Regions from separate parts of the Homo sapiens genome. Here all the other regions are linked to region 1. The links are contacts of gene promoters, found by promoter capture Hi-C in blood cells and fetal thymus (Javierre and others, 2016). All regions are on one chromosome and are shown on one strand. Each heading gives the region's core, a stretch centred on a gene start or on the middle of the fragment in contact. The rest is flanking DNA. Distances are from core to core; before and after follow the strand shown.

Region 1 (3,818 bases), core at 867-3,366:
CCCAGCTACTCCGGAGGCTGAGGCAGGAGAATCACTTGGATCCGGGAGGCGGAGGTTGTGGTGAGCCGAGATCACGCCATTGCACTCCAGCCTGAGCAACAAGAGTGAAACTCTGTCTCAAAAAAATAAAATTACCCTTTTAAAAGCAAAAAGGAGAGAACAAAATGTGATGAGACACAGTTAAAAATTTTTCCTTCAATAAAACTGAAAAAAATTATTTTTCATCAAAGTAGAAAGTATGAACAAAAGGTTAAGTAATGTCCACGACTGAAGACAAATTTGTTTCCAATCAATAATAGTTCTTAAATACATTTTAAGTGCTGCAAAAATAGTTAGATGAAAATCAGAGAAAGACCAGTACCTTTACAAGCAGCATTGCTAGATACGTATTTAAAATTTTTAAACTACTTCTATTTTGCCGCAAATTGGGAAGAAAATTATTTGGAATTTCTGCAGCTACAAAAAAAAGGTGCGCGTGTGTGTGTGTGTGTTTGTGTGTGCGTGCACGCGCGCATGATGTCGGTGGGGAACGCAGACAGATAAAACGAAAGGCCACGGTCAGAGGACTAATCTTTCTCCCCGTTCTCAACAGAACAGTCCCGTTATCTTCCGAAGTTTAAAATAAATGGCTTCTCCCTACTTCATCAGTGTATATATATATTTAAAAGCTCTATATCATTTGGTATAAAGATCTAGAAAAATAAAGGCAATAAAGATCTAGGAAAACGAAGATGTCTTATTTCTGATACTTGAGGGATAACTTCCTTCCACCAGCATTTTACAAGAAAAATAAAGCGAGTTAGTTAGACCTCCGTCCTTCCCTCCCACCACCACCAACAGAGGCCTAATCAACGTGAAAAAAAAATCGGCCCATGGAATTCTCCGCGCACATCTTTCTCTCCTGCTGGAATCCACCCTCTGGGGTAAAATTATCTCGGAAGGCTCAGAAAGTGAGGCTAAGTGAAGAGAGCATTAAGAACCCTTCACGATATTGTCTAAGAGCCGTCCCCCAGTCGTGAGTGGAAGAGAGAGGGGTGACGGATGGGGACTAGGGAAAAGCGGCTGGGGCAGAACCGCCCTGGAGCGCAAGCCTGGTCCCAGAAGAAAAACAATCTTCCTTGCTCACACCTATTAAGCACCTACTATGTTCCCAGCACTATACGAAGCGCTTTCCTATATGTCCGTTTTTATTTAATAAGCCTCCAGTTCACACTGCAACTCCCCCTTTAGTTAATTGCTGAGTATTCTGCTTTTTCTCGCGTATCCTCAGAACCAAAGGTGTCGATATTTGGACTACAGAGCCAAGCAGTTGCAGGACGACGTGCAACCTCAAAGGAAAGTGTCCCGAAGGCCGCTTCCTTTTTGGGGGTTGTGGATCTCAGAGCCAGGCGCTCGCGGGGTTCAGGCTGCTGAGACCCTGCCAAGGGTTAGGTTTATTTACCCCACGAACATTCGCCCAGCGTCCACTGAGCGGGCCCTGCCTCACTGCCTCCCAGCGCTTGCCGGGCCCGCTCGCTGATCGGCGTCCACCTTCCCACCGTTCCTCTGCTTCCTCAGGAGATTGGAGAGCGAATGGTGCCTCTAACAATAAAAGTGGTAAGCTGCGACTTTGTCAGCCAGGCACGTTTTTAAGTGCTTTTAACCATACATTAACTCATTAAAAAGGAAAACCATCATCGCCCTCATTTTATAGATGAGGAAACAGGTTAAGCCATTTGTCCAAGATCAGGATGCGAACCCAGATAATCTGGACTCTGAGGCACCCTGGAAAAGTTCCCTACTTCCAAAGTCTGCAGGAGCTTCGGGACGTCTTCCCGGGAGTCTCCCCCAGTCTCCTCGACCTCCAATCCAGGCTTCTGCTGCTCTGGGTCGGGTTTGGCCAACTGGGTGCCGGCCGGTTCCCTGGCGCGGGCGAAATCTGCACCCGAGGCGCCCGTCCTCCTCTCCGGGCTAGACCTCCTTACTCACCGTCCTTTCCGAGCGGCGCGGGGTTGGGGGGCGCCCTCAGCGGCAGCGCCAGAGTCTTGGAGACCGCCCTGCGGAGATACATCGCGCCCGCTGTCCGCCGCGCAGCAGCCTCGGTACCCAGGCGCAGGCTGCCCTTCCACAGAGAGGCTGAGAGCCTGGCAGCGCCCCGCCCGGAGGAGGCACGTCGACCTTCATCCAGCCCCGCCTCCGCGGCCCCCGGGAGGTGGGGAGACCTTTGTAGTCCTCACCATCCTCCCCTAACCCATCTCCAGCTCTGTTGCTATCCCTGAGGTCTCTAGAGCTGACCGCGGCATCTCAGAAAAGGGATGGGGAACCTACAAGTCGCCGTCGCCTGCCTGGCTCATTCTGTACCACTGAATGTAACTCCTCACAGCAAGCTGGAAATGTTTTGGGAATTGGACGAGATTAAGACAAGGACACAGTTTATCACGCTGGATGTAATCTGAAACCATTTTATCTCCTGCATTCCGTTAGCTTTCCTAGGAGAGGGAAGGATAGCTGGAAGTTTCTTAAAAATGAGAAGAGCGAAGGGGTAGCCTCAGCCTTCCATTAGCGCACTGGGTGATGCTCAGAATCGTAAGAAAATCTGCAGACAATGGTTGAATTTCTAGACAGCTCACTGTTAAAACGACTTTAAAATATCAAAAACACTGTATATTCCTCTATGGGATGTGAAATTAATATTTCCACATCAGCGGCCGGGCACAGTGGCTCACGTTTATAATCCCAGCACTTTGGGAGGCCGAGGCAGGCGGATCACTTGAGGTCAGGAGTTGGAGAGCAGCCTGGGCAACATGGTGAAACCCCGTTTCTACTAAAAATACAAAAAATTAGCCGGGAGTGGTGGCGCGGGCCTGTAATCCCAGCTACTCGGGACGCTAAGGCAGGAGAATCGCTTGAACCCGGGAGGCGGAGGTCGCAGTGAGCCGAGATCATGCCACTACATTCAAGCCTGGGTGACAGAGCAAGACCCTGTCTCAAAAGCAAAACAAAACAAAACAAAAACCCCAAAAACAAAACAAAACAAACAAAACAAAAAAACACATCAACTAAAAATACTAAATTATTAGTTTTCCGTCTCATCGTGGCTACAAGAACTTGTCATGGTTTGAATATGGAAACCAATAATTTATTACGTTTATAACATTGTCTAAATGATTACTCTTTGGAAGACACCATTTCCTACTATAATAATCCCTTATGTGTGTTTGGCACTTGAAAGATTATAAAGCACTTTCACATCTATTATCTCTTTTAATTTTCACTGCAACCCTCTGAGGGAGGTGGCAATTATTCCCTTTAGCAAATGCCACCACCAGGTGGTGGGTGGGAATGTCCAGGGATTTACTGGTGGTCATGAATTAAAAAACAAAAAGGACATGAACATAATACTTCTAGCTTAAAGTTCTATTGGCATGTAACAGGCACAATATTTGTTCATTTGCTATGTAAATAGACGTTTCTCAGAAGTTATAGTCCTGAACCTAATTATAATTATATTTAACATATTCTCATAAGAAGAGTACAAGCCAATGATCAGATTGGTTTTTTGATACTCAGAAAGAGAGTTAACTAGTTTAATCACTAGGGTGACAGAGCGAGACTCAGTCTCAAAAAAAAAAAAAGTTTACAACATAGATGGGTGTGGTGGTACATGCCTGCAGTCCCAGCTACTCCAGAGGCTGAGGTGGGAGAACTGATTGAGCTCAGGAGGTCAAGACTGCAGTGAGCTGAGATCTTGCCACTGCACTCCAGCCTGGGTGACAGAGTGAGACCCTGTCTCAAAAAAAAAAAAAAAAAAAAAAAAAATCACACACAGTGGCTCACAG
Region 2 (3,874 bases), core at 1,363-3,862, 230 kb before region 1:
TGGCTTGTGTTGTTTTCTTTTCCTTAATATTACATTTTGATCATTTAAGGGCATTAAATTGGCTTGTTTTGGTCAGGTGTGGTGGCTGCTCATGCCTGTAATACCAACACATTGGGACGCCAAGGTGGGAGAATCACTTGAACCCAGGAGTTCGAGTCCAGCCTGGGCAACATGGCACGAGACCCCATCTCTATTTCTAAAATAATAATAAATTCGGTTATTTTGAAGCTTTTTCAATTTGAGGATGCTATAAAAACTTAGACTTGTTGCTTGAATCTTCCATAATAGTATGTAGGAGCAATTTCTCTAAACAGCATTTTAAGTTATTTATTTGTGGGTTTTTAAAATGTCAACAAAATGCATGGCAGTATTTATTTTTTATATCTTCATATAAAATTAAGTAAATTATAGCATTATGAACATTTTAGAACCATGCAAGAGAAGTTATAGAGAAAGTAATTTATGGTGATTTTCATAAAGCTTTAAAATATTTTCATTTGGGCTATAACAAAATGAGTACAAAGGAACTATTTAGCCTGGAGGGGCTTTTGTTATTTAAATGTCAGATTTCTTTGATACATTCTTCAAAAATAATCCTTGTCCTGCCTCTATGTTCCATTATTGTGTTTCTTTTTTTTTTTTTTGGAGACAGAGTCTCACTCTGTTGCCCAGGCTGGAGTGCAGTGGTGTAGTCTCGGCTCACTGCAAGCTCTGCCTCCCAGGTTCACACCATTCTCCTGCCTCAGCCTCCCAAGTAGCTGGGACTACAGGCGCCTGCCACCACGCCCGGCTAATTTTTTGTATTTTTAGTAGAGACGGGGTTTCACCATGTTAGTCAGGATGGTCTCAGTCTCGATCTCCTGACCTGGTGATCTGCCCGCCTTGGCCTCCCAAAGTGCTGGGATTACAGGCGTGAGCCACAGCGCCCGGCCTTATTGTGTTTCTTGAAGAGATTCCAATTAGTTTTCAATTATTTAACCAATTAGTTTTCATTATTGCTGTTATATTTAAACTTTACCATTGGAATAATATTGGTATGCGTTTGATATTAGTCACTCGATGTCATCATTATTTGTATTGGAATGTGCTATTCACAATAGGTTATTTAGAAGCTGTATGTGGCAGTGGCCAAGAGAGTCAGTAGGACCTTCTTTTCAGAGATAGGAAACTTTCTAGAAAGCCTGTTAATGGGCTTTCATTGAAATTTCCTAAGATAGCCAGATACTGTCATTCAAAATATCTAGAAAGAAGAATGTAAAAAGTTAGATAACCTGGGTCGGGTGTGGTGGCTCATGCTTGTAATCCCAGCACTTTCGGAGGCCAAGGTGGGCGGATCAACTGTGGTCAGGAGTTCGAAACCAGCCTGGCCAACATGGTGAAACCTCGTCTCTACTAAAAATACAAAAATTAGCTGGGCATGGTGGCAGGTGTCTGTAATCCCAGCTACTTGGGAGGCTGAAACAGGAGAATCGCTTGAACCTGGGAGGTAGAGGTTGCAGTGAACCCAGACTGCACCATTGCGCTCTAGCCTGGGCAACAAGAGTGAAACTCCATCTCAAAAAAACCTGGAATTCTCTTCCATCAGAAATAAAAGTAAAAATTACAGGTAAAGCCTCTTCCAAACAAAATAACTTATTGGTAATAGATATTTTAATTTGTGAGTTGTAAATACATAAGATTAATAAATGGTCTTTTAAACCTAGTGCTTTTAATGTCTTTGTAGTCCAAAAAGAATCTGGGAGTAGATTTTCTCCTTTAATACTGTTTTATCATAATGACCCACATATATCCATTCACACATGGAGCCTTCACTGTAAAAGTGAACGTACATAGATCTGTAGCTGCAACAACGTCCACTGAAATGGATCACTCATTCTTTAATAGAACCACTTTTAAAACAAATGAGGTTTTCAGAAGTAACATAGTATGCACAGAATTTTGGGGCTACTGGAAAGAATGACAAGCACGGGAACATCTACCAAATGTAGAATTGGTTCAGATTTTAGCATGACTAATTGCTAGTCATATGTTGTTGAGAACAATACTGATTAGAATACTCATTATTGCAGGTACATTGTTTACCTACCCCAAAATACTTCAACCGGAAGAGAAACCATGGCAGCCTTAAATAAATAAATCTGGATAAGAATGAAGGCCAAAATAATGTCTGAGTTTCAAGTGTTGTCTACCAACAAAATTAACAGGGTATGAGTTGAGGGTGGGCATATGGGTGCATGGGCATGCCACCAGACGAAATCAGTTTTGGAAACACCAACATATGATTGGTATGTTACTATGAGTTAAGGGGACTGGAAAAAATCCAGTGAAACTCTCGAGTTATCCTTTCTAGTTATCACTGCAGGAGATTGGATCCTTCACTGATGCATTATCAGGAACTGAAAAAGAAAATTTTTTTAAAGTCATATGTGAGCCTTCTAATAATTTTTTAGTAGTATATAAATCTTAATAGGTTGCTTTTTTCTTTTCTTTTGAGATACGGTATTGCTCTGTCACCCAGGCTGCAGTGCAGTGGTGTGATCATGGCTCACTGTAGTCTACCCCACGGGCTCCAGTGATCCTCCCACCTCAGTCTCCCGAGCTGCTGGGACCACAGGCACGTGAAACCATGCCCAGCTAAAATTTTTTACTTTTTTGTAGAGATGGGGTTTCATCACATTGCCCAGGCTGGTCCCAAACTCCTGGGTTCAAGTGATCCTCCTACCTCCACCTCCCAAAGTGCTGGGATTACAGCCATGAGCCACTGTGCCCCACCCTAAGTTGCATGTTCCTTGCATAGATCCCTTATTCCATCCATATGTACCTTTCATTCTGCTTTTCCTATTATACCCTATATACTATTGTTTCTGGTTTTTATTTTTCTATTTTCCCATACACTGTTTTGTCAGAGTCTCAGAAGGTAAATTGCAAATTTGAAGAGGGAGTAGGAATGGCATGAGTTTTGGTTTCCTTCATGCCACATTTCAGTAGATACCGTAGTACATGGTGGTAGTAACGACTGACTGGATTGTTTATTTAAATAAGGCATTATGGTGTATACATATGATGAAATTAACATTTGAGTTCCTTTGACTCCAAGAGCTTTACATACGATCTTAAAACTAAACTATAGACGGGGGCTCAAAAGGTCAAATAATTTGAGCAAAGTGATAGCAAATAAATAGTAGCTGAGTCAGGATTCAAACTCAGGTCTGTCTGGATTCCAAAGTGCTTGCTTCTTCCCCACCACCATTTCTTTGGCTTTGAGTGAACACAAACGGGGAGAATAGACATTGCAGTGTAGCAAGAGATTTGTTAAACATGGTCAAATGGTCAAACATGTAAGTCAAATACACATGAACTATCATACATACAGTGTTAGACTAGAAGCAGGATATGGTGGCTGAATACTGGAATATAATGGATTTCCAGTGGGTTTTTTTTTTTTTTTTTTTTTTTAAGATGGAGTCTCACTCTGTTGCCTGGGCTGGAGTGCAGAGGTGCGATGTCAGCTCACTGCGACCTCCGCCTCCCAGGTTCAAGTGATTCTCCTGCCTCAGCCTCCCTAGTAGCTGGAATTACAGGCGTGAGCCACCACACCCGGCCTGGATTTCCAGTTTTCTGATACAGTAAAGTCTAGTTTTGCCCAAAGTAGAACATTTGATACTGTTTGTGTACTTCAATCGTAGTTTTTAAAGGAAGCAATAAGAACAGCTACTCTAGTATTTCAAATTAAAGGAAAAAACTGATGCAAATATTCTGTATTCAAACCATTTTTTAAAACAGTCAAGATTTATAATGAAGGGAATGTTGCATATAGTTACATATATATGCATTATTTATCATGTGTGTTAGACTTGAAAGATTCCCAAGAATT
Region 3 (3,365 bases), core at 844-3,343, 170 kb before region 1:
AGCAGCAGTATGAAGAATGTATTGAGCTTTCTTCATGCCAGGCACCATGCTTAACACTGGGAATACCTTATTATTAGTTTTCAGAACAGTGAGAGATAACTACTGTATTCTTCATTTTGCAGATGAGGAAACTCGTACTAACAGAAAGTAAGTGGCTTCCTCAAGGTTATACAGATTAAATTAACGATAGAAGGGAGACACAATTCTCTTTTGATTTATGGTAGCAAAATGGAAATTCAGAACATTTTATTAATAACTATGTTATGGAAGCTTATTAAAAAACAAAAACTACAGAATCTCTCAGGCCCCAAAGCAGCACTCTAGAACAGAAACAGTCCCATCCTAGCAATCAGGAGACCAGGGTTTCTGGACCTGCTCCATTGCTAACTAGCTCTTTTGAAGAGGTGGACTAGATTACCCTAAAATCCATTCATATTCTAAAAAAAAAAAAAATTCTGTGCTTTCTAAAAATGCCACAGAATGACTAAAAAGCACACTCAAAATAGCAGACTAGGGTTGTGGGGAGGTGGTTAATGGATAAGAAGGCAACAAAACATACCCTGCTCTGAGAACAGACTTGTCTTTATTAAACAGGTAAATGTCCGTGGGTAGAAAAAAAAATAAAAGAATCGAAGAACTGGTTGTTAAGGAAGGTCACAGAAGACTCTCAAACGAGGGGAACAGAACAACCTTCAAACTCACACATCTGAACATTTTAAGATCCGGGGCCCAAATAAGTATGCTTCCTGCCCCGTGTCTAGAACTGTTAAGAGTAACTCTGATGCAATGATCGAATGAGGAGGCATCATAGCAACTCTTCTTTATTTAAAGAAAAACATCATGGAAAGTATCTTCTGCCAAAGATACTATGTTATCTCCCTGAAAAAGCCCTCATATACCTTAAGGAGAGCATAGTAAACAAGCATCATTGCCACAAATAACCTGCTGGTATAAATCTAACTTTATTTTTTTTTTCAGGAAGATGCTTCAATAATTTCAAAAAGTAAAGCTAACAACATTTTAGTTTCTTGGTCCAACAATTATTTCTGGTCACTAATGTAAGACAACTTGGGGTCTGGCCAGTACTCCTAACCCACAGTATTTAACTGTCTGATTTACAAAATTAAAAAATTAAAACCTAGTTGAGAAAAATGCACTACCACGGCATGAGACGAGCAGCATTAAGAAGCAGCAGACTTAATGAGGTAAAAGGCTAAATATAATACAGTTTATTAAATGAGAATTTTAGTCCCTTGGCTATTTATGACTGTGCCAAAGTAGTACTAACAAGCCAGGTGGTCCTGCTCTAAAGGTATAAGGCTGTTCTATAAGACATTTAGTCTTAAGAGATAATCTCTTAAAAGAGATACCTCTTCTTTAGAATCACATTTGCATATTAAAACATCTGAGAAGTCTTCCTGTAAATAAATCTGTTTAATTTTCCTTCACCCAGCATTTTCTAAACTTATTTAATGAAAAACCCATTTTTCACAGCCATAAAAAGGAATGAAATCGTGTCCTTTGTAGCAACATGGAACAGCCGGAGGCTAACGCACAGACAAAAACCCAAATATCACACTTACAAGTGGGAGCTAAATTTTGGGTTCACAAAATACATAAAGATGGGAATAACAGTCACTGGGGATTCCAAAAGGAGGGAGGGAGGAACAGAGGGAGGGAGAAAGGAGCAAGGATATTTTTAAAACTTCCCACGTGTACTGTGTTCACTATCTGGGTGATGGGATCAATAGAAGCCCAAACCTCAGCATCATGCAGTATACTCTCGTAACAAACCTGCACATGTACCCCCTGAATCTAAAATAAAAAGAAACGTTAAAAAATATTTTTGTGTTATAATTAATATTGTATATTAGAAATCGCTTTGAAAAAGAACGCTATTTTTTGATGTAAGCATCTTCTAAGTACTAGCCATATCAACTAATCAGAAAAACTTTTAAGAAATTTACACTCAAAGCTATGTCTGTGCTATTGGTGTAAAAGAAGAAAAAACTACCTAATCACAATAACAAGATTAAGACTCTTAAAGTGGCAAAATAAGATAAAGCTGCTGACCATAGCAGAGCACATGCTCTGGGGTCCTGGTCCTTCCCCCAAAACAATATGATGGGCTTACGTCACATTTTCTTGCCCAGTTCCTGTTGTGACCAAAGACAGACATCTGTAAGGCAGCTATCCAGGGACAAAATGTTTGAGAATGGCCATGGAATAAAACTAACTAAAGATAAAACCTGGGTACTAAAAAAAAACTAATCTTTGTTTCATGAAACACCTTTCTAATCCGGAGACTGAACTGACAACCATATCATAGACAATCATATTTTTTCATGCTTTTACAGAATGAAGTTATTAAAAAACAGCATCTCAGAATTGAAAATTATAAAGAAATCTGGTTTGAACACCTACCTGACACTTGAATTCTCTTTACAATATCCCTAAGTGGCATTCTAGTTCTTGCTTTAAAATCTCCAGTTGTAAAGATACTCACAACCTCTCATTCCATCTTAAACAACTGCACTGCTTAGGAGCTATGATTTGAATCTTTATCTAAATCCCTATAAAAATGAGAACTTGTCACTAATAGGCCAACCTACTCCAAAACAATTGTTGTTAAACTAAAAGATCACTTCTTTTTGGCAATTAAAAAACACACATATCCGGAATCTTCCATACTTCTATTGTAAATATTCCATTATATCATTAATAAACAGGATAGTAATTATCTTAAGGAAGAAGGAAAGGGGAAAATTAAATTCGGGAACATAAGATGTATTTAAATTAACACTGCTGCCAATATTTTATTAATTTTAGTAGTACATACTTATTAGTTGAATTTTTCAGTTTTTTAGAATATTCTAAATATTGTGTATTACATTTTTTAAAAAGAAAAAAAATCCATTATAAAGCCCTTTGATATATATTTAGTTGCAAAGGCTCAAATCATAGCTCTTCTGTATATAATTCTCTTTATGGTATCTACTATGACACCTAAGGCCTAGAACACTGTCGATGATGCCAGTGGAAATAAAAACCAGCAGTTGTTTGTATGCAGCGCTGAAAATACAGATAGAGTTTCAAGATAACTTTTACTTACAAGTTAGTCCTCAAAGACATCAAGACCAAAAGAAATATATTAACTTACGCTGTCTAGTCCAAATGATCAAAATGATATACTTTTTTTTTTTGGAGACAGGGTCTTGCTTGTTTGCCCAGGCTGGAGCAGTGGCGCCATCACAGCTCAATGCAACCTTGAACTCCTGGGACTGCAAGGAGTAGCTGGGACTACAGGTCCATGCCACCATACCAACCTTTTTTTTTTTTTTTTTGTACAGACAAGGTCTCAATAT
Region 4 (3,871 bases), core at 747-3,246, 130 kb before region 1:
GTGGCCAGGGAATGGCTCCAAAAGCCCAACATGGATCTGTGCTTACACCACACATGCAGAGCCAAAGAGCAGGCCTGCCTGACCAAGCCCCCCACCTGGCTTTGACCCTCCACCTGCCCTGGTAGGTTAACACAAAAGACAGAAACTTTGGGGAGCCCTATGGCCTCACCCATCATCTGATAAACCAAAATACCTCCCATGGGTAACATAAGACAAGCACATATCCCACCACTTCAACCACAGCTGGCACTCTTTTGCAAGCACCACCTCCTGGCTGGAGGCCAACAGACACAGTTTACTACAGCAACTACAGGTAAAATAACATTGCACCCAAGAAGGAGAAAACTTATGCATGACCCAGTTATCAGCACTGTCTGCAGTACCCTGGCTAACCAGGATGTCCTGAGTCTGTCCACATGACCAGTTTATTAATACTACAACCAGCATTTAAGAAAGCCAACGCACTACGGCTATTTACAACCAAGGAATCTCACAACGTATGTCATTCCCCTGTTACCCCTATGAGAGCTGGTGCTGGTACACATTGCTGGGAGACTTGAGGACAGATAACATCACTGGATCCCTTGCAGACATTCCCCAGAATCAGCCTGGAATGTGGTAACCCCACTGGGCAGCTAGACCCAGAGGAGCAGCAGTACTCACAGTAGTCTGGCTCTCAGGGACTCCTACTCCTAGGGCAAGGGGGACAGCACCACATCAAGGAAGCAACCTGTTCTTCTTCATTCTATGAAGTCAGTATCACCCTGATACCAAAGCCAGGAAAGGATGTAACAAAAAGAAAGAAAACTACAGACCAATATCCCTGATGAACATAGATGTAAAAATCCTCAACAAAATACTAGCTAACCAAATCAAATGGCACATCAAAAAGATAATACACCATGATCAAGTGGGTTTAATCCCAGGAATGCAGGGATGGTTTAACATATGCAAGTCAACAAATGTGATATATCACATAAACAATTAAAAACAAAAACCACATGATTGTTTCAATAGATGCAGAAAAAACATTCAATAAAATCAAGTATCCCTTTATGATAAAAACACCCAAAAAACAAGGCACAGAAGGGAATTATCTCAAAATAATAAAAGTCATATACGACAAAGCATACTGAATGGGAAAAAGTTGCAAGCATTCCCCCTGAGAACTGGAATAAGACAAGGATGCTCACTTTAATCACTTCTTTTCAACATAGTACTTTAAGTCCTGGCCAGAGCAATCAGGCATGAGAAAGAAATAAAGGGCATCCAAATTGGAAAACAGGAAGTCAAACTATCGCTGTTTGCTGATGATATGATCGTATACCTACAAAATGCTGAAGATTCCTCCAAAGACTATTAGATTTGATAAGTGAATTTAGTAAAATCTTAGGTTACAAAGTCAATGAACACAAATCCAGTAGCACTGCTATACAACAACGACCAAGCTGAGAATCAAATTAAGAACTCAATCCATTTTATAACAGCTGCAAAAATATATATAAAATACCTAGGAATATACTTAACCAAGGGGGTGAAAGATCTCTACAAGAAGAACTACAAACACTGATGAAAGAAACCATAGATAACACAAACAAATGGAAACACATCCCATGCTCATGGATTGGAAGAATCAATATCATGAAAATGACCATACCATCTAAAGCAATCTACAGATTCAATACAAATCTGATCAAAACAGCAACATCCTTTTTCACAGATTTAGAGAAAGAAAATCCTAAAATTCCTATGAAACCAAAAAAGAGGCTGAATAGCCAAAGCAATCCTAAACAAAAACAACAAATCTGAAGGCATCACATTATTGGACTTCAAATTATACCAGGCTATAGTTAACAAAACAGCATGGTACTGGTATAAAAATAGACACATTGACCAATGGAACAGATTAAAGAATCCAGAAATAAAACCAAATATCCACAACCAACTCTCTTCAACAAAGCATGAAAAACATAAATTGGGGAAAGGACACCCTATTTATTTAATAAATGGTGCTGAGAAAACTGGCTAGCCACAAGTAGAAAAATGAAACTGGATCCCTGTCTCTCATCTTATACAAACATCAACTCAAGATAGATCAAAGATTTAAATATAAGACCTAAAACCATAAAAGTCCTAGAAGATAACCTAGAAAAAAATTCTTCTGGACATTGGCCTAGGCAAAGAATTCATGACTAAGACCCCAAAAGCAAATGCAACTAAAACAAAAATAAATAAATGGGACCTAATTAAACTAAAAGGCTTCTGTACAGCAAAAAATAATAATCAGCATCATCATCAGAGTAAAGAGACAACCCACAGAATGGGAGAAAATATTCGCCAACTATGCATCCAACAAAGGACCAACGTCCAGAATCCACAGGGAGCTCAAACAAATCAGCAAGAAAAAAAATAATCTCATGAAAAAGTGGGAAAATGACATGAACAAACATTTCTCAAAAGAAGATATACAACTGGCCAACACATAAATGAAAAAGTGCTCAATATCACTAATCATTCAGGGAAATGCAAATTAAAACCACAATGACACACCATCTTACTCCTGCAAGAATGGCCATTATTAAGACAAAAGACAATAGATATTGGCATGGACTTGGTGAAAAGGGAACACTTATGCACTGCTAGTGGAAATGTAAATTAGTGCAACCTCTATGCAAAACAGTATGGAGATTTTTTTTTGTTAAGACAGTGTCTCACTCTGTCGCCTAGGCTGGAGAGCAGTGGCGCGATCTCGGCTCACGGCAACCTCCTTCCCCTGGCTTCAAGCCATTCTCTTGCCTCAGCCTCCCAAGTAGCTGGGATTACAGGCACCTGCCACTGCGCCCAGCTAATTTTTTTTTGTATTTTTAGTAGAGACGGGGTTTCACCATCTTGACCAGGCTGGTCTTGAACTCCTGACCTCATGAGTTACCTGCCTCGGCCTCCCAAAGTGCTGGGATTACAGGCGTCAGCCACGGCACCCAGCCAGAGATTTTTTTTTTTTTTTTTTTTTTCCTGAGATGGAGTTTCACTCTTGTTGCCCAGGCTGGAGTGCAATGGCACGATCTCGGCTCACCGCAACCTCCGCCTCCCAGGTTCAAGCGATTCTCCTGTCTCAGCCTCCCGAGTAGCTGGGATTACAGGCATGCGCCACCAGGCCCAGCTAATTTTGTATTTTTAGTAGAGACAGGGTTTCTCCATGTTGATCAGGCTGGTCGCAAACTCTTGACTTCAGGTGATCCGCCTGCCTCAGCCTCCCAAAATGCAGGGATTACAGGCATGAGCCACCGTGCCCAGCCAAGACCCTGTACCTTAAAAAAAAAAAAAAATTAATGTACTTTCTATCTCCAGAGAGCTGTCTGTTCTGGCCATTTCATATGAATATAATTATATAATATGTGATTTTTTTGGGGGGGTGGGGAGACAAGGCTGCCCACTGCAGCCTTGACCTCCTGGGCTCAAGTGATCCTCCTACCTCAGGGCCTCTACAGTAGCTAGGACTACAGACAGGTGAAGTCATACCTGGCTAATTTTTTTTTTTTTTTTTTTTTTTTTTTTTTTGTAGAGACAGGGCTTCATTATGTTGCCCAGGCTGATCTCAAATTCCTGGGCTCAAGTGAACACCTGGGCTCCTCCTGCCTTGGCCTCCCAAAGTGCTGTGATTGCAGGCCTGAGCCATCATACCCAGCCTACTATGTGGTCTTTTGTGACTGGCTTCTTTCACTTACAATAAAGTTTTCAAGGTTCCTTTCATTTACATGTAACATCTGTTAGTATTTAATTTCTTTTTATTGCTGAGTAATATCCTATTGTATAGACATATCACATTTCTCTATTCATCCACCGATGCACATTTGAGATGTTTCTACTTTTT
Region 5 (3,725 bases), core at 899-3,398, 150 kb before region 1:
ATGATGCTAAGCAACCAGACCTCCTCCACCTCAGCAGAAGACAGGTTACTTTCCAGAGAGGAACAACAATAGCATCTTTGAGGCATAATAGGCACAGTTGTTAGCATCATACTCTACCCAAAATGGAGTGTCCAACTAGCTTTTTAGTCCATCACTTTTAGTCATGAACAAAAAGCCAAATATTCATATTCCACACACAGAGAAGATATTATAAAGTAAGAACAGATCACAATTCAGTAAAGAACATTTTAAAATACAAGTAAAAGAATTTTTGGAAATTAAAGATACAATAGCTGAAATGAATACAGGCTTGGAAGATAAAATTGAGGCAATCTCCAGGAACCAGAGGAAAAAAGATAAAGCAATAGAAAACAGGAGAGAAAAGATGGCAATATTAGATGACCAACCAGTCCAGGAGGTCCACTATCTGAATAACAGAGTTCCAAAAAAATAAATCATAAGGAAAAAACAAGAAATAGAAAGGAAAAAAAAAAAAGGTTTGGAAAGAAATCAACAAGAAAGAAGTAAATCAATAAAATTTTCTAAGACTGAAGGATATAAGCCACCCATTTGAAAGGACCCACCAAGTGTCTAGTACAAAAAATTAAGGAACACATACATTGAGGCATATCACTGTGAAATATCATAATATTGGGAACAGAAAAGATTCTACAAGCTTCTAGAAAGAAAACACAGGTTACTACAAAGAATCAGGACACAGACTTCAGTCTTCTCAACAGTCATACTAGAAGGAAGATGACAGTTGAGCAATTTCTTCAAAATTATGAAGAAAAATTACTTCCAATCTAGGATTCTTCACCCAGTCAAATCATCTTATAGAAGTAGAATAAAGGTATCTTCTCAGACATGAAAGATCTCAAACATTTACCTTTCATGTTTCCTTTCTCAAGAAGATACTGGAGAATGTATCCCATCAATAAGAGAGAGTGAATTTTTTAAAAAAGAGAACTATTGCAAATACAGGATAGAAGAGATCAACATAGGAGAGAAACAATGGGAATCTTCAGGAAGACTGTGAAGAGAGATTCCACGATGCTAGCTATGCACCAGATTTAAAGGGCAACCAGTCCAAAATATAGCAGTGTGACTCCTGAGATAGCATGATGAACTGTCATTACTACGATAACCATTGACCTTGTTCCTAAGGACAGAATGTCCAGATCAGTCTGTTCTAGATTTTTATTGACATTTGGCTTACCTTCATGTACCTACTCACTCCACCTGCCCTGCTGCCTGGATCAGCTAAGAACACATTTCACCCCCCAGATGTGTTCTGCTTTGATCTACTATGTGTTGGAGGAAGATTACCATGGGCTTAAAATAAAAGATACAGAACAGCGTTCTTCATGTGACCATATACCTCCTGAACAAATATGCAATACCCAGCCCATACCATACTGTAGCACTGCCAGATACCAGAGCAGGATGTGCCTTACATTTCTAAAAACTCATGGCATTGCTCACTGACTACTTGAAGACAAGCTCATGACACTCAGTGAACCTGACTATTCAGCTATCTTCTCCTGGAAGCCTTCATCTATCTATGATAATATTGCCCTTTCCTAACTCAATTAGCTTGGTAAACTATTTTTTCAAAATAAAATATTGTTTAGGACTATTTTCATAGGTGGCAAAACTATAAAGAAAAGTAAAGAAATTATAATACATAAGTCAAAACAATAGCACCTCTGGAAACAGCGCCCAGCCGGGTTTTAATATTTCAGTGATTCCTTCTCTTTGACCATAAAAAAGCTAAAATCATTTTGCATTAAAAAATTCAGGGTTCATGCCTGTAATCCCAGCACTTTTGGAGGCTGAGGTGGGCAGATCACCTGAGGTCAGGTGTTCGAGACCAACCTGGCCAATACAGTAAAACCCCATCCCTACTAAAAATACGAAAATTAGCCAGGCATGGTTGCATGCGCCTGTAATCCCAGCTACTTGGGAGGCTGAGGCATGAGAATTGCTTGAACCCGGGAGGCAAAGGTTGCAGTGAGACAGGATCACACCACTGCATTCCAGCCTGGCTGACAGAATGAGACTCGGTCTCAAAAAAAAAAAAAAAAAAATTCAGACCAGGTTCAGCGGCTCACACCTGTAATCCCAAAACTTTGGGAGGCCAAGGCAGGAGGACTGCTTGAGCCCAGGAGTTCAAGACCAGCCTGGGCAACATAGGGAGACCCTATCTCTAGAAAAAATAAAAAATAAATATCAGCCGGGCGTTGTGGCTCTTGCCTATAGTCCTAGCTACTTGGGAGGCTGAGGCAAGAGGATTGCTTGAACCCAGTAGGTGAAGGCTGCAGTGAGCCATAATCATGCCTTTGCACTCCAGCCTGGCAACTGAGAACAAGTCTCAAAAATTAAAAAAAAAAAGAAAAATATTAAACTCTCATTTCTTTTAACTGAACTTTTAACTGATCTTTAACTGAAGTTAAAAGGCAACAAGTCCAATTAAAGAAGTTCTTTAACTGAACTTTAACTGATCGATCGAGACGTATACTTGTATACATTTCTCAAAAAAATAGTCTAACTCCTTGACTTATCTATATATTCCTTGTAATCTATGTTCCACCACCTCACTGAAGCTATTCTCTAAAAATATTTTTTTGCTTTTTTTTTTTTTTTGAGACAGGGTCTAGCTCTGTCGCCCAGGTTGGAGTGCAGTGGCACAATCATGGCTCACCGCAACCTCTGCCTCCCAGGCTCAAACCATCCTCCCACCTCAGCCTCCTGAGTAGCTGGGACTACAGGCATGTGCCACCACTCCCAGCTAATTTGTGTATTTTTGGTAGAGACAGGGTTTCACCATGTTGCCCAGGCTGGTCTTGAACTCCTGGACTCGAGCAATCCACTTGCCTCAGCCTCCCAAAGTGCTGGCATTACAAGCATGGGCCACCATACCCAGCCTCAAAATGTTAATAACGACCAAATTCTATTTCAGTTTTCAATCTCTACTGCCTCCCCGCAGACTCATACATTTATTATTACCCTCATTTAAAAAATTCATTCTTCCAACTTTCTCTACCACTCTACTTTCTTTTTTGAAATGGAGTTTCGCTCGTTGCCCAGGCTGGAGTGCAATGGCGCAATCTTGACACACCGCAACCTCTGCCTCCCAGGTTCAAGTGATTCTCCTGCCTCAGCCCCCTGAGTAGCTGGGATTACAGGCATGTGCCACCATGTCCAGCTAATTTTGTATTTTTAGTAGAGACAGGGTTTCTTCATGGTGGTCAGGCTAGTCTCAAACTCCTGACCTCAGGTGATCCGCCCGCCTCAGCCTCCCAAAGTGCTGGGATGACAGGCATGAGCGACTACCCCCGGCCTACCACTCTACTTTCAAGCGTCTCCTCTGACTCTTCTTTCATCTCCATAGACTCAAGTCTAGCCAACTTAGTGAGGTTCTATCCTCAGTGTCTCCTTTCTTTTTGCCCTATACTACCTTCTCAAGTAAGCCCACCCATTCTTATGGTTTCAAATAGCACCTCTATGCTGATAATGACTAAGTATTTGTCCTCTACTCTGACTCATCTTCTGAATTCCAAAACCAAATTTTAAACTACCAACTTTAACATCACTACAGGAATACTCAGTCAACACTTCAAGCTTAACATGTCTAAATGGCACAAATTATCTACATCTGTCCCTGTTTCCCCATTCTGTGTTCTTTAAATCTTGGTTTCTTCATATTTAAAAAAGAGATTTTA

Evidence for each region. Contacts are between HindIII fragments. The CHiCAGO score rates a contact against its expected background, and 5 or more counts as called.
Region 2: a fragment that was not itself captured here is called in contact with the fragment with the promoter of MGARP in region 1 in 2 of 17 cell types (neutrophils and non-activated CD4 T cells); the score reaches 6.3 in neutrophils.
Region 3: a fragment that was not itself captured here is called in contact with the fragment with the promoter of MGARP in region 1 in 12 of 17 cell types (naive B cells, total CD4 T cells, total CD8 T cells and 9 more); the score reaches 11.6 in naive B cells.
Region 4: a contact is called between a fragment that was not itself captured here and the fragment with the promoter of MGARP in region 1, in 4 of 17 cell types (total CD4 T cells, total CD8 T cells, monocytes and 1 more). The highest score is 5.4, in total CD4 T cells.
Region 5: a contact is called between a fragment that was not itself captured here and the fragment with the promoter of MGARP in region 1, in 7 of 17 cell types (naive CD8 T cells, total CD4 T cells, naive B cells and 4 more). The highest score is 6.5, in naive CD8 T cells.

What each region holds. Positions count from the first base shown.
Region 1 is chr4:139,278,109-139,281,926 of GRCh38, forward strand. It overlaps MGARP (mitochondria localized glutamic acid rich protein), which reads right to left and starts at 2,117. Exons shown (of 4, transcript NM_032623.4): 1 at 1,969-2,117. The coding sequence starts at 2,050. RefSeq lists an enhancer at 1,872-2,081. The HindIII fragment of the contact is 26,288 bases long and covers 1-3,818 here.
Region 2 is chr4:139,045,943-139,049,816 of GRCh38, forward strand. No RefSeq gene overlaps it. Among named protein-coding and RNA genes, the nearest start is that of NOCT, 32 kb to the left of the region's middle. The HindIII fragment of the contact is 4,269 bases long and covers 479-3,874 here.
Region 3 is chr4:139,108,165-139,111,529 of GRCh38, forward strand. The region is part of intron 4 of ELF2 (E74 like ETS transcription factor 2); the gene reads right to left. Among named protein-coding and RNA genes, the nearest start is that of ELF2, 67 kb to the right of the region's middle. The HindIII fragment of the contact is 3,650 bases long and covers 269-3,365 here.
Region 4 is chr4:139,144,790-139,148,660 of GRCh38, forward strand. The region is part of intron 1 of ELF2 (E74 like ETS transcription factor 2); the gene reads right to left. Among named protein-coding and RNA genes, the nearest start is that of ELF2, 30 kb to the right of the region's middle. The HindIII fragment of the contact is 4,043 bases long and covers 1-3,871 here.
Region 5 is chr4:139,125,894-139,129,618 of GRCh38, forward strand. All of the region lies in intron 3 of ELF2 (E74 like ETS transcription factor 2), which reads right to left. Among named protein-coding and RNA genes, the nearest start is that of ELF2, 49 kb to the right of the region's middle. The HindIII fragment of the contact is 2,948 bases long and covers 675-3,622 here.